4 separate regions of the Homo sapiens genome follow, and regions 1, 2 and 3 are each linked to region 4. The links are contacts of gene promoters, found by promoter capture Hi-C in blood cells and fetal thymus (Javierre and others, 2016). All regions are on one chromosome and are shown on one strand. Each heading gives the region's core, a stretch centred on a gene start or on the middle of the fragment in contact. The rest is flanking DNA. Distances are from core to core; before and after follow the strand shown.

Region 1 (3,186 bases), core at 512-3,011, 150 kb before region 4:
CTGTTGACTGGAAGCATTCCCAATAACATAAAGTCAATTAACACATATTTTGTATGTTATGTGTATTACATACCGTATTTTTACAATAAAATAAGCTAGCGAAAAGAAAATGTCACTAAGAAAATCATAAGGAATAGAAAATGCATTCATAGTATTGCATTTATTGATACCATAAGTTTACATCATTTGTTTATAAGATCTGTCTGAAATGGTGGGCAGCCATGGCTGCAGACCTCAATCTATGGTACATATCAAGGAATTCAACTTTTTCTTGCAATGTTATGACTTTTGTTTACTTTTTGGGAATACCAATAGCATCATTAGTAGCACTTTGTAGGTCTCATGCTGTTTTCAAGGTTTACGGTATAGCACTATGATGGAACGTTTGTACACGAGAATGAGCTCACTTTTTACTGCAATTCACAATTTGTAGGAGAGGATGAGTACTCAAAAGGAGATGATTAGTGTAACAGGGTGTTTTAATTGGATGCTTCCAACACTTGAGCTCATCACAATAGCAACAGAACAGGGCTACAAAATTATTATGGTAGAACAATATTACTATAGTTAATTTTATGTAGTTGTGATTTAACACTGCATCTGTTACATGTGTTTACCTTTCTCTCAACTGTGACTAGCACCATAAACAGTCTGTAAAGGCATGTGCAAGTTTTGAAAAATGTTAACTTTTTATAATAGATTTGTGTATATTTTATGGTAGTATACGATAAAATAGATTAGTAGCTACATATATTGTATGGATTCATGACATACCTAATTTTCTTAGTTTTTATCTTAAATATTTCTAGGCTACGTTGTGAGTTTTTTCAAATTGTTTCAAATCTCCAAAAAAATCTCCAATATATTTATTTTTAAAAATCTGCATATAAGTGGACCCACAAAATTCAAACCATTTGTTCAAGAGTCAAGTGTACTAAACTTCACATTATACACACACAAATATTGACTCAAAATGGATTCTGAACTTAAATTTGAAAGGAGTTAAGAAGAAGGTATGGCTATAAAAAAGCAACATGGGTGATGTGATGATATAAATATTTTGTCTCTTGACTGTAACAATGTCAATATCCTGGTTGTAATATTGTATTACAGTTTTGTAAGACCTTATCATTGAGGGAAGTTGAGTAAAGCAGGGGTCTGCAACCCCTGGGCCACAGACTGGTGCTGGCCGCACAGCAGGAGGTGAGCAGCTGAACAGCCAGCAAAGCTGAGCTTCACCTTTCATCAGATCAGCGGGCATTAGATTCTCCTAGGAGCAGAAACCCTATTGTGAACTGTGCATGCATGCAGGGGATCTAGGTTGTGTGCTCCTTATAAGAATCTAATAATCTGATGATAAATGTAGTGTGTACTTGAAACATCCCCAAAACCTCTGCCCCTGCAATCAATGGAAAAATTGTCTTTCACGAAACCAGTCCCTGGTCCCAAAAATTTGGGAACCACTGGAGTAAAAGATACATGGGATCTCTTTGTATTATTTCTTACAACTGCATATGAATCTGCATTCATCTCAAAATAAAGAGTTTATTTTGTTTAACTTAAATAAATGTGTGTATGTGTGCAACTTTTGACACCAGTGACAGAGAAAGTCTTTGTCAAACACAGAAGCATGTGCATACAAGGTGAAGTAGTAGAAGAAGCCTCAACACAATGTAGAAACCCCCAAACTGCAGAAAGCCATTAGGGAAGTCAACATAGCAGGGAGAAAGGCGAGTAGGTTTGTTGATATTGGAAATGTGAGTCTCTTCCCACCTTGAGACTTCCAGAGGGACTCCACAGTGGAACTATCCAGTAAAACTTTCTGCAATGTTGGAAATATAATCTGAGCTGCCCAATACTGCAGCTAATAGCCACGTGAGGCTCTTGAGCACTTAAATGTAACTAATGTAACGGAGGAACTCAAGTTTTACATACATTTACTTTTACTTAATTTAAACTTAAAGAGCCACATAGGACTAGTGACTACTGTATTGAACAGCACAGTGGTATAAAAAGATTAAAAACAAAAATGAGAGCTGCAGTTTTGCCATTGGTAGACTGTTTCAGAGCTTTGGTAATTTGGTCATCTATGTGTCATGTGTCACCTTGATTGTCCTCTCATGCCGATGAAGTTAGCAACAAACAAATCGAAGTATAATCCTCTACATAGTTGACATGTGATTATAGCTAAATGAGGTCAGTCTGGATGTCTGGTTATTAATATTGATAGAAAGGGCATTCCAGAAAGTAAAAATACCACTTTTAAGATTTAAACAAATTAATGTGTTAACCGATTATCTGACATCCAATGTTTTCCTACATGATCTGATTACAAAATAAAAATTCAGTGATTGGAGAAAACTCAAGAAGAATATATTGGAAATGCAGGCAATATAGCATTGTTATTGTAAGAAATTTTTCCTCAGTTGTCACAGAGTGGCAAGAGACACTACAGGCAATGAAATGTGTTACAGAGTGAACCAGGCATGCACAAGCGTCTAAATAAGATGACAGCTGCAAATATCAAAATGATCCACCAGCAGGCACTGGCACTAGTGAATTTCAAGTGAAAAAAATAAGATCGAACTGACTTCCAGATTGAGGTGCTGGGGTATTAGGAGAATGATAGGGCACTAAGATTCATTGATGCAGAAAAATAGGGAAGGAAGCAAAGAGTTCAGTTCTTGATATATTGTTTCTTACATCAAATGGTCATCCTTAAACAGAGATGGTCCTGTCTAATTCCTTTTCAACAATTGTTTGCATACAGACTGTCTTAGAATGGGGAAAGTTTTAAAATACAGATTCTTGGGTTATCTTCCAAAATTCTCAACCAGATTCTCCATGGTGAAACCCACAAATATGCAGTATTTTAAAGTTCCTTAGTAAATTGCAAAGTTTGGTTAGGTTTGCAAATATTGTAGCATATTAAGCAGGTAAAGGAAAGTCAGGAGACAACATAAATCAACTTAGAATAGCATATGGATTTAAGAGTTAGTTAAAGATATAGTGTGAAAACAAAACTAAACGAAAGCAATTAACTATGGCTAGATCTGCCTCCACTCAGAGTGACAATAGAGCATCTTGGACATACGTGGAAATAAATTTTTAAGATTATTATAATACCCTTATAATTTACTTAAAATACTTCAGCTAGATAATGAAATACATCTAGGCATATCTCAG
Region 2 (3,433 bases), core at 201-2,700, 160 kb after region 4:
ACGTAGTAAAAAAGTATTCGGTATTTGCTTGAACTAAAATGATCTTTTCTCTCAATAATGCTTTCAATTACAGCTATCAGAGATTTTTGGACTGAATATGTAGCAGGCTCACCAAAACTACCATGCCAAAAAAGGACTCTAGATTCATAATAATAATGGCTTGAGAATAGAGAAGCACTCCCATGTCCTCAAATCAGTCAAATTATGACATAATCAAGGTGATGATTTATGTAATTCATTGGAACTCTTAATAGTGTGACTATATCATATATCAAATAATGAGAACCTTCAACACTGCATGTATTAATGTGTCTTATGCTAGATTCCTTCACAAGGTAGAAAAGGTCTGCTACTCAGTCTTACCTGCACATTTTGTTCTGGTGATTAGTGGAGGTCCTGGGAGCCCCGTTCCACCTTCACCAGGTCTTGTAAGTAGAACTCGGATCTCATATTCGGTATCTGGATCTAAATGCCATAATTTGTAAGTTGGAGCATTGACTGCATGGGTTTCTGTCCAGGATCCTGATGTCATTCGGTACTCTACTTCTTTCAGGATGATAGGACCATCGCCAATGATCGAGTTGGCATTTAGTTGGATCAGCAAATATGTAGGCCCAACACCAAGAAGCTGAGGAGGAGCAATGGGTCTTGGCGGTTCTAGGAGAGATGAGTGTGCACTTCAATTAGTAAGATTTAAAATAATACAAAGATATATTAGTGTCTAATAAGGCCTAAATGCTTAATGGATCATTTATTAGAAATGCATAATAAATACTTGAAAGAAAACTAGAAGACGCATGATCTGACAACTGTACTTTTAAAGAACATATAATTTTGCAAGTGCATATGACTATTTTAACATAATTTTCCTGTATTAAAAACACATTTTTTTTCAGGAGATCAACTTGTAAAGTCACAGTATACAAAGGAAATAAAAAGAAAATATTTAGATATGGATAGCTCTAATTAGCTACTAAGAGAGTAGAGTTGATCTTTGACAATTTATTTCATTCACAAACTATGCCCAAGAGGTATTTTTCTTTTTGCTTTCCTTGTTACTTCTTCACAGTTTCTACAGATGAGTAAAGGAAGAAAGAATAACATAACCGAACTCAGAAAGTGATGCCAGGTGCTAACTTGTTTCTACAAATCTGCCTCACAGTGTGACAAATTTAAATTTACACCTAGGCACAATCACAAATCACTAAACATCACTGGTCTTTGGGAGCAGCATAAGATAAGGCAATTCACCAACTATTAAACTCAAATATCAAAGGCACACTATAATTTAATTTTGGATATCTTAAGATATTCTGCTTGAAAGAAACTTTGGAAAACATTATTTCAACATTTGTACTTACAGAAAAGTTGAATGATATATTAAGGCACTTTTTTTTTCTTTCATTAGAACAATGTGACTGAAATGAGACACCGAACTTTATGAAGGACTCAACAGCTATAGCTCTGTTCATATGGTCTTTCCACAAGGGATAATAACTCATAAAGTTCTTTGAATTCCTGGAACACTTCTCACTTTTCTCAGGAAAGTCAAAAGACCTAAAGAAAGTGTTAATAAAGTAGTAATTGCTCAAAAATTAATTTAAAACTTTTTTTAAGAGTTGGAGCAAATCACATAAACTATTAAAACACAACCACAAAATGCTCCCTCAGTCCAACCCACTACAGGTACGGGGTGGACTGAAGAAGGTACAAATAGAGGGAAGTCATGAGCACATAATCAATATCTTTCTAGTTGGATTTTTTGTTTCAATGGCAATGCATTGCATGAAAAATATACAATGCAAATAAGGCCTGTAGACAGGTTTTACCTTCTTATGCAGGTTTAAATGAAACAAGAATGTTCAGGTGCAGACCAGGATTTTCTTTTTAACCCTGATTGTATAAAAGTATAGTTTCTAGCTTAAAAGCCTCTGAATTACAAATAACCTTAAAATTAGGAATAAGATTATCTGGTCTGTACAGCTACACAGGCTAAAGTAATTTTCAAGAAGATTCTTTCAAAATTCATATGATAAATATTAATTGAGTAGCTATTAATTGTTAGGCTGTCCTACACATTGGGTATCCATATAACATTGTAGGGGAGACATAGTAAAAAGAAATCAATGAATTCATTATTTTAAACTGAAATTTATATAGGAAACAAAAAGAAGACTGATAAATAATGAATGTAATATCAATATTTTTTGTCCAAAATCACTTGAAGGACATAAGTAACTCCTCACAAGTATTCATGGCTCATTATGGCAGTAACTTTTAAACTAATTATTTGTAGAACCACATGACCTTGGGATTCACTGGGCTCATGTTTAAAACAAAAACAAAACTAAGATCAAAGATGATAACATATGCTATATGAAGTGCAAACATTTATAATTTCTATAGAAAAGTGGTTAACATATGATTTACAAACTTTAACTACAACATCCATTCCTGATAGTTTGCAAATTGTTTCAACAATATGTAGTCAAAATTGCATAGTAAGTGAACTCTTTCCAATTTCACGACTGAATTCAACGGAGAAGTTATTCACAAAAGAAAAAAGTTTGAATAAAATAAACACAGTTTAGAATTTTCACTTATCAACTATGAAAGACAGAGCTAGACATTTCATACCATGAAATTTTACCAACTGCTCTAACAACTTTTGTACTCAGAGTTTTAAAAAGTTTTTGTAGAGAGGGAGAAAGTTGATATATTCTCAAACCCTAAACTAAAATGAAACTGAATCGAGAAGTGAACATAATAGAAAAAATGTAAATGTCTTCCGAGATTACCTAAATGCTGCACATATTTTAAGAAGCAGTCTGTATTTTGTGAATAAACTGAGTTGCCTCATATGTGCAATATTTGTTTTCATTCCAGATGGCTCATATACTAACTAATTTAAGTTGGAAAGAATGCTAAATTCACATCTCGCTGGGGTGCTACCCCAGTGTAGGGATAGAATAAACAGTCACAATATGCCAAGTGAATTATATATAACAAACCTTGGTTAATCATAAATTTATAGATATTCTGAAACCTGAACTTATGTGAGTATATCAAATGGTAAATCTCACCAATCAAAACTCTGCACACTCTTGCTATGGAAAATAAGGAGAAAACCTAAGAGGAGAGCAAAAGATGAGAGAGGAAGGAAAGAAAAAATAGCCATACCGCAACATAAGAAACAAGTGAAAGAAAGAAGAGAAATAAGTGAAACAGTAAAGCACAACATTAATTCCAACATTTCTATCTTTAAGGAAGTGATATATAAAAGAAAACAAAAATTTGTAGTCTGGAAACCTAATATGAAAAAAATGCTTACACATTAATAGCTGTGTAATCTTAAATATGTTATTTAACTTTTTCACATTATAATTTATTCATTCGTGCACTAGGCATTATTTGAAGAATTTTTGAAGACTCA
Region 3 (3,201 bases), core at 436-2,935, 170 kb before region 4:
CAACCCAGATAAACTGAAAAGCTTCATTTTAGTCAGTATTTCAATCGTCTTCTTGACAAACCTTTTATCATAGATGCTACAGCTAAGTTTTCATTCACTTATTTTCCTTTAATATTCCCTGATGGAAGGACAGTGAGGAGTAAAATAACCACAAGATGAACAACAGCCAAGAGCAGAGGCAAAAATTCTGGATAATCTACCCCCAGTGAAAAGGAAACAACCCAAAAACTATATCTCTGGCATATTATTGCTTTACAATTCAACACTAACTTAAGGCAAGTATAAATAAACATTATAGAGCTGTGAGCTTTTATATATATCAGTTTTTCCTGACTTCCAAGATGATTTACGTTGTCTTTGCCATACTACATGTGAAGTATATGAGCACAGCGTTTTAGGTTTGCTTGTTTGTTTTCTGAATTTTTCTGTGTAGAACCACCTCCTCATAGAATTGTTCCTGATATGTAGCATGCACCTAGAACATTTTTATGGTATTGATGGTTGCCAGAAAAGTTAGTAAGCCTGGTATCCAATCTAGCTCTAAACAACAACTCTGAGGTCATATCAGAGTCCCAATAGGTAACAGGGCACACTCAAATTAGAATAATTTCAGGAAGTTTATCATAGGGGCCATCTTTAAAAAGAGGCACAGCCAGTTCTAGGCAACCAAAGAAAATAAATGTCCTGACCTCACTCTTCTCCATAGGCATCCCATTAGCCAAATTCTGCCAGAAGCCAGAGGACAAGCGAGCTACTAATGTCCCCACAGAAGTCAGCTTCCCAGGCAGAGTGGGTATGAAAATCCAGCACACCCACATTACTGTCCTTATCTGAGCAAGAAGCATTTTTGCAGACAAGAAGAATACATCTAAAGAATACATATTAAGGATAGTCTATCCATTCCTCAAGCTTCCGGTACATATTTCCATAACCCTCTCCTTGTCTCATACTATTCCCTTAACTACATATGTGCTCATATTTTCGTTAACTTTAATGCTTAATGTTATCAGCAGGCTCAAGTCCTTTGTGGAACAAATTGAGGTATTAAAAATACTAATAAATCCACAGTGACATTTTTCCCCCAATTGACTCTGAATGGTTATTTGCTATGATCCTCATTTGGCAATTAATCACATACTAACATTTTATATCTTTAGTATTATCTCACCCTATACTTAATTTTTTATGAGTTTCAGTTTTTATGACTCCCAATTCAATTTTAAACTTCATGAGAAGAAATATTGCATTACTTTCTTGTATGACTACAACACATCAACTTCCCCTGTTCATTCATTCAGCAAACTTTGATTAAAAAAAAAAACCTACTATGTTGGCGATTGGCAATAGGAATCAGAGATAAAATGCATTATTCATTCCCCCCAGAAGCATTGTCTTGAAGGGAAAGAACAATTAAGCAGACAATTGCAACAGATTAGGAGAAGGGTGTAATAAAGGAAATACAGGGCAATGTGGGAGTATACTGAAGGCATTTAATTATGCAATTACATGAAAAAGAGATTAGAGAAGGATTCCTGGAGGAGATGACTGCAGATTTGAGTTTTAAAGGAAGAGTCACAGGACACCAGGACAGGCAGAGGAAATAGTATTTGAAAAGGCACTGAGATGTGAAAGAGCCTGATACATTCTGGAAACTTCAAGTACTTTGTTATGTCTAAAATGTAAGTAAGAAGGAGGAAGTGGTAAAAACAGAGACTAGGGAAGTAGAGGGAGTCCTGATGGTTCAGAGCATTCATTATTGATTCATTATCAATAAATAAAAAAGCAATTTAAAGTATGAAGCAACCACAAAGTCACAGAATCTACATTTCCAGTTATCATGGTCCAAAAACACATTTAAGGACAGGTCATTTGTACTCTAAGTGTTTGCTATACAAACCTTGGTCCACCACATCACCTGAGAGCTTGTTAGAATCTTAGACCCCAGACCTACTGAATCAGAACCTGTGTTTTTAACAAGATCCCTAGATGATTTATAAGGACATTAAGGTTTGCAAACATTGGCCTAGGCAACAAATGGATAACAATATAGTCTCTGTTTGAAATTGTTGCAAAACTAACATAGAGGGGAAAATGTGTTAAGCAGAGAAAGCACTGGGCATCATTGAGTTAGAGGATGTTATAAGTGGAGAGAGGGAAAGGGAAGGCTTTTAAGTAAAGAAGCAAATAGTAAAATTTTTCTTTGTCATATTAAATGGAACATAATCTAACGTAGCCCATTTCAGCTGAAGTCTGTTGGGCTTAATTTCAGTGCACTGATTATCTAATTGTAAATGTAATGTATATCAAATTGGCTGAGTTGGAATGTCATCTTTCTTTTAAAGGTTCAATTGGAATTCAAAATAAAAAGATAAATTTATGTGAGATTTCATATCAATTCACATGGAATAGAAGCCAGAGAATTCTATAAAAAGAAATTTCATGAGTCTTGGTCACCACAAGAAAAGCTTTTGACTCTTCAGGTCTTTTTCCAAGCAAGTCTTTCCTTTTGGAAGAAAAAAGCTCACTTCTTTCAGTCACATAAGGAAAAGACTATCATGTAAATAATAATCTTTTGTAATTTCTCTTTAATATTTCGTGACTTCCAATGTTCTTCAACCAAGAAAGCTGTTAACTCATTTTTAATAAAGAAAGTGTTCAGAGATGTCCAGCACTAGAAAGCTAGAAAGTTATGTCTATGATAGGTGACAGGGACATATAGCAAAGCTTAAGTCGCTAAAACTGGAAATCTTGTATTTTATTATCACCAATATAATGTGTCTTAAAATATATTTTTTCCTTCTTGATAAGTTAAAATGGTGAATTTTAAAAATATCCAACTTTCATTATCTCAAAACAAACACATAATATGTGTAATTGCTTTTAAAAAAATTGCTGAGATATGTGTCTGAAATATATCTGTGTATATATAGACATACATATTAAAATGGCTTTCATTTCATTTTAACCATAAAACATGTATTTTGAATAAGCAAATCTCGAATCTATTAAATCTTTACAGACTGATTCTATCCAAGTCAAAGCATATGTATTCAGAATAATGCCAAACATCAGAGAAAGCTGGAACAAAGCAGCCTGTTTTCAGTGATCAAACATTGCCCCTGAAGGCTGTAATGAAAGAGCCATGTGCCTTTGAAATCACCTTTTCTGTAATGCTACTTTGCTCAATAAAAACGACACATT
Region 4 (3,016 bases), core at 417-2,916:
TCTTCTCTTCATGTTCCGTTGTTTGTAATTTGTTTTTACTGCTACCAGAACCTCTTACAATTCTCTACTCACTCATGTAAATACTAGCTGCAGAAGGTCTGGCAAAACTTTCTCCTATTTGTATATGTGTAAAGTGGTCTTTCCCTTACATCAAGTTAAAGAAAAAATACAGTTGTAATAGCTACTTCCCAATAGCCAAAGGGTTGTATTTGAAAGAGGGATGAAAATCACTCCAGGTACCAAGAAAAACTACTGTGTGATCTGGGACAAGTTATCTGCTTTTTTTGAGACCCACTTTTCTCATCTTTACAATGAAATAACTAAATTCTGCTCTCTAGGCTTGTTCTGAAGATTACTGAATATACATTTAAAGTACCTAGAAGTATTTGACACATAGCAGGAACTTAATATACAATTACTGGTATTACTATTAAGGATTAAGAAAGCACTGGCATGCAACATATTATATATTTGACAAGATTACATCATCTTGAAAAAATATAAGAAGTATTCTTTTTGTATAGTACTTTAAGGAGGATATTATTCATTTTATATCATTTTCCTTCTCACTGTGATATGTAGAATATATCACACCAAAATTGTGGTTGACCCAACACTCCAACCAGTGTCCTATTTTATTCACTCTGTATTTCTTAATCTATTCAATAAATATTACTAAATCCATTTGCTGTGCTAGATGCTGAGGGAGGTGTGTGACACAGCCTGTAGTCTAGTAGGGGAGGTAGGCATTAAATAATTAACTCCAGTCAATTTCAGTGCTATATATGAAAAAGACAATTCACTCCTTTTTATGACTTGACTTACAGCTCACAGTGCCCAGAAAACTGGGATTCTTGATAGAATGCGCCACATATATCCTAATTAGCAACAATCACTAGTTTGGCCCCATAATGTACATACCTAACACACACTTTCACAGGCAAGAGAAGAAAATACCTATCATCATATTATGATCAAAGTATTTTGAAGTAAAAATACTTCCTCATTATTTCTTAGAATACTGCATACAGCAATTCCTTTAAAAGCAGACTCTACTAGCATGTTTCCCACTGAACAGAACTGTTTGTCCATTTAACCAAAAGGTATTTATTGCCCGGGAATTCATTAGTTCATTATTTGAAGAAATACGTATATTGGGCAAGAATGTAAATCAGGCTGTTTAGTTATCACATGAAAATGCATAAAACAGTACCCACATTCAAAGAGTTCAAAGAGTCCTTCAGGAAATCAGGTGCCTAAAAGTCAAACTGACCTTTAAAAAAAAAATGTTCATAGCTTCCTCTGTTAAATGAATGATCGTTTCAGAGCTTTCTAAATGCCAAACTCTTTTAATATATTATTTCAATTAGCTTTCACAAGCACTTATGAGGCTTGTTGTATGTTTTTTTTTTCCTTTGAGACAGAGTCTTGCTCTGTCACCGAGTCTGGAGTGCAGTGGAGCCATCTCAGGTTACTGCAACCTTCTCCTGGGTTCAAGCAATTCTCCTACCTCAGCCACCCGAGTAGCTGGGACTACAGGCGTGTGCCACTGTGCCTGACTAATTTTTGTTTTTAGTAGAGACGGGGTTTCACTCTGTTGGCCAAGTTGGTGCGTACTCCTGGCCTCAAGTGATCCGCCCACCTTGGCCTCCCAGAGTGCTGGGATTACAGGCATAAGCCACTGTGCCCAGCTGTATCTTCTTTTACCGATGAGGACACTGACAGGTTGGTATCACCTCTTTCCTAGTCTATATTGCAGCCACTCCCTTATTGAAGTTTCTGACTCCAAGTCCTACTCATCCTAATCTACCTGCAGCTTTTAAGGTGTCATTTTTCTAAAACTTAAATATGATCCTATCATTGTTCTTCTTAATAGCCTACAAAGATTTCAGGGAAAATGAAAATGACGAATATAAATTATACTGCACACACTATTTATAATAATATTTAGCCACTTAAAATTAAAACACATAAAAATGTGGGTAAAGCTCATGGTAAAATAGTAACTACAAATAATTACAAGTCACAATCTTTGCAATTATGAGAAATGTTTAAGTAAGCACCTGATAAAAAAAAGGAAAAAGCAAAAGTGATAACAGTTGCTTAGAATATTGTTTCAGAACACCTTTTAAGGTTACCACACTGTTTTAATTTTTAAAGTGGAAGAGAAAGTGCTTTAGCACTGTTGATAGCTGCCACCCTGCCCTCAAGATAAAGTGAATCTTGAGTCTTACAGCCCTTTCTCATATCTGTATCAACATACATTTTAGCCTAATTTCTTACTAACTCCTCAGTATATTCTTGAACACTGCATTAACTTTCATGTCTAACTGCAAACCTCTGCCCATGCTGTTACCAGTGTGGATATGGTCTCTGGTTTTTCTACCTATTTAAATGTCACTTTGTATGGAATTCTATTTCATGTTTAGGCACACTGCATGAAATTATTACTTCAACTATCAGGTTCTTTCACAATTCACAACTTCTTGAGAGCATGGAACATATCCTATGTATTTTTAGTATTTTCTCAATGCCTAGTGTAAGACATATGGCAGAGAGTAAGTGTGCAACAAAATTGTGTTAATATTCATATTTTTCATAAGTGAAAACAATTTTTTTGTTGATATGATGCTTTGATGGTTTCTGATTTAAGGTTAGGATGTTAAACGGACTCTATTTTTACATGACCATAATTCTACTCCCCAATTCTGTTCCTAAATCTTTAGTGAGCTAAGAATTCAGATTCATGGTAAGGTTAGAATTGTGCTGGACTGCTTGTGACTTCAACTATCCATCTTCCATGGTCAGTTCTTGATCAACTGATACAGTTTGGGTGTTTGTGCCCTCCAAATCTCATGCTGAGATGTATTCCCCAATGCTGGAGATGGGACTTGGTGGGAGGTTTTTGGTTTTGGGGGTTGGCTCTCTCACGAATGCCTTGGTGCCATCCTCACAGTAATGAGTGTTCTTGTGAGATCTGGTTGTTTAAAGAGTGTGGACCTTCCCTCTCCTGTCT

Evidence for each region. The method cuts DNA at HindIII sites, captures the fragments that hold promoters and counts their contacts. A CHiCAGO score of 5 or more calls a contact.
Region 1: a fragment that was not itself captured here is called in contact with the fragment with the promoter of PTPRK-AS1 in region 4 in 2 of 17 cell types (total CD8 T cells and naive CD8 T cells); the score reaches 6.1 in total CD8 T cells.
Region 2: a fragment that was not itself captured here is called in contact with the fragment with the promoter of PTPRK-AS1 in region 4 in 1 of 17 cell types (naive CD8 T cells); the score reaches 5.1 in naive CD8 T cells.
Region 3: a contact is called between a fragment that was not itself captured here and the fragment with the promoter of PTPRK-AS1 in region 4, in 6 of 17 cell types (naive CD8 T cells, total CD8 T cells, non-activated CD4 T cells and 3 more). The highest score is 10.2, in naive CD8 T cells.

Annotation. Positions count from the first base shown.
Region 1 is chr6:127,873,720-127,876,905 of GRCh38, forward strand. All of the region lies in intron 1 of THEMIS (thymocyte selection associated), which reads right to left. Among named protein-coding and RNA genes, the nearest start is that of THEMIS, 26 kb to the right of the region's middle. The HindIII fragment of the contact is 3,876 bases long and covers 1-3,186 here.
Region 2 is chr6:128,184,069-128,187,501 of GRCh38, forward strand. It overlaps PTPRK (protein tyrosine phosphatase receptor type K), which reads right to left. Exons shown (of 30, transcript NM_002844.4): 7 at 364-657. It overlaps LOC124900216 (a long non-coding RNA gene), which reads right to left and starts at 357. Exons shown (of 2, transcript XR_007059752.1): 1 at 1-357. The HindIII fragment of the contact is 7,214 bases long and covers 1-3,433 here.
Region 3 is chr6:127,855,765-127,858,965 of GRCh38, forward strand. The region is part of intron 1 of THEMIS (thymocyte selection associated); the gene reads right to left. Among named protein-coding and RNA genes, the nearest start is that of THEMIS, 44 kb to the right of the region's middle. The HindIII fragment of the contact is 1,556 bases long and covers 908-2,463 here.
Region 4 is chr6:128,026,199-128,029,214 of GRCh38, forward strand. It overlaps PTPRK-AS1 (PTPRK antisense RNA 1), which reads left to right and starts at 1,667. Exons shown (of 5, transcript NR_125849.1): 1 at 1,667-1,725. All of the region lies in intron 13 of PTPRK (protein tyrosine phosphatase receptor type K), which reads right to left. The HindIII fragment of the contact is 8,791 bases long and covers 1-3,016 here.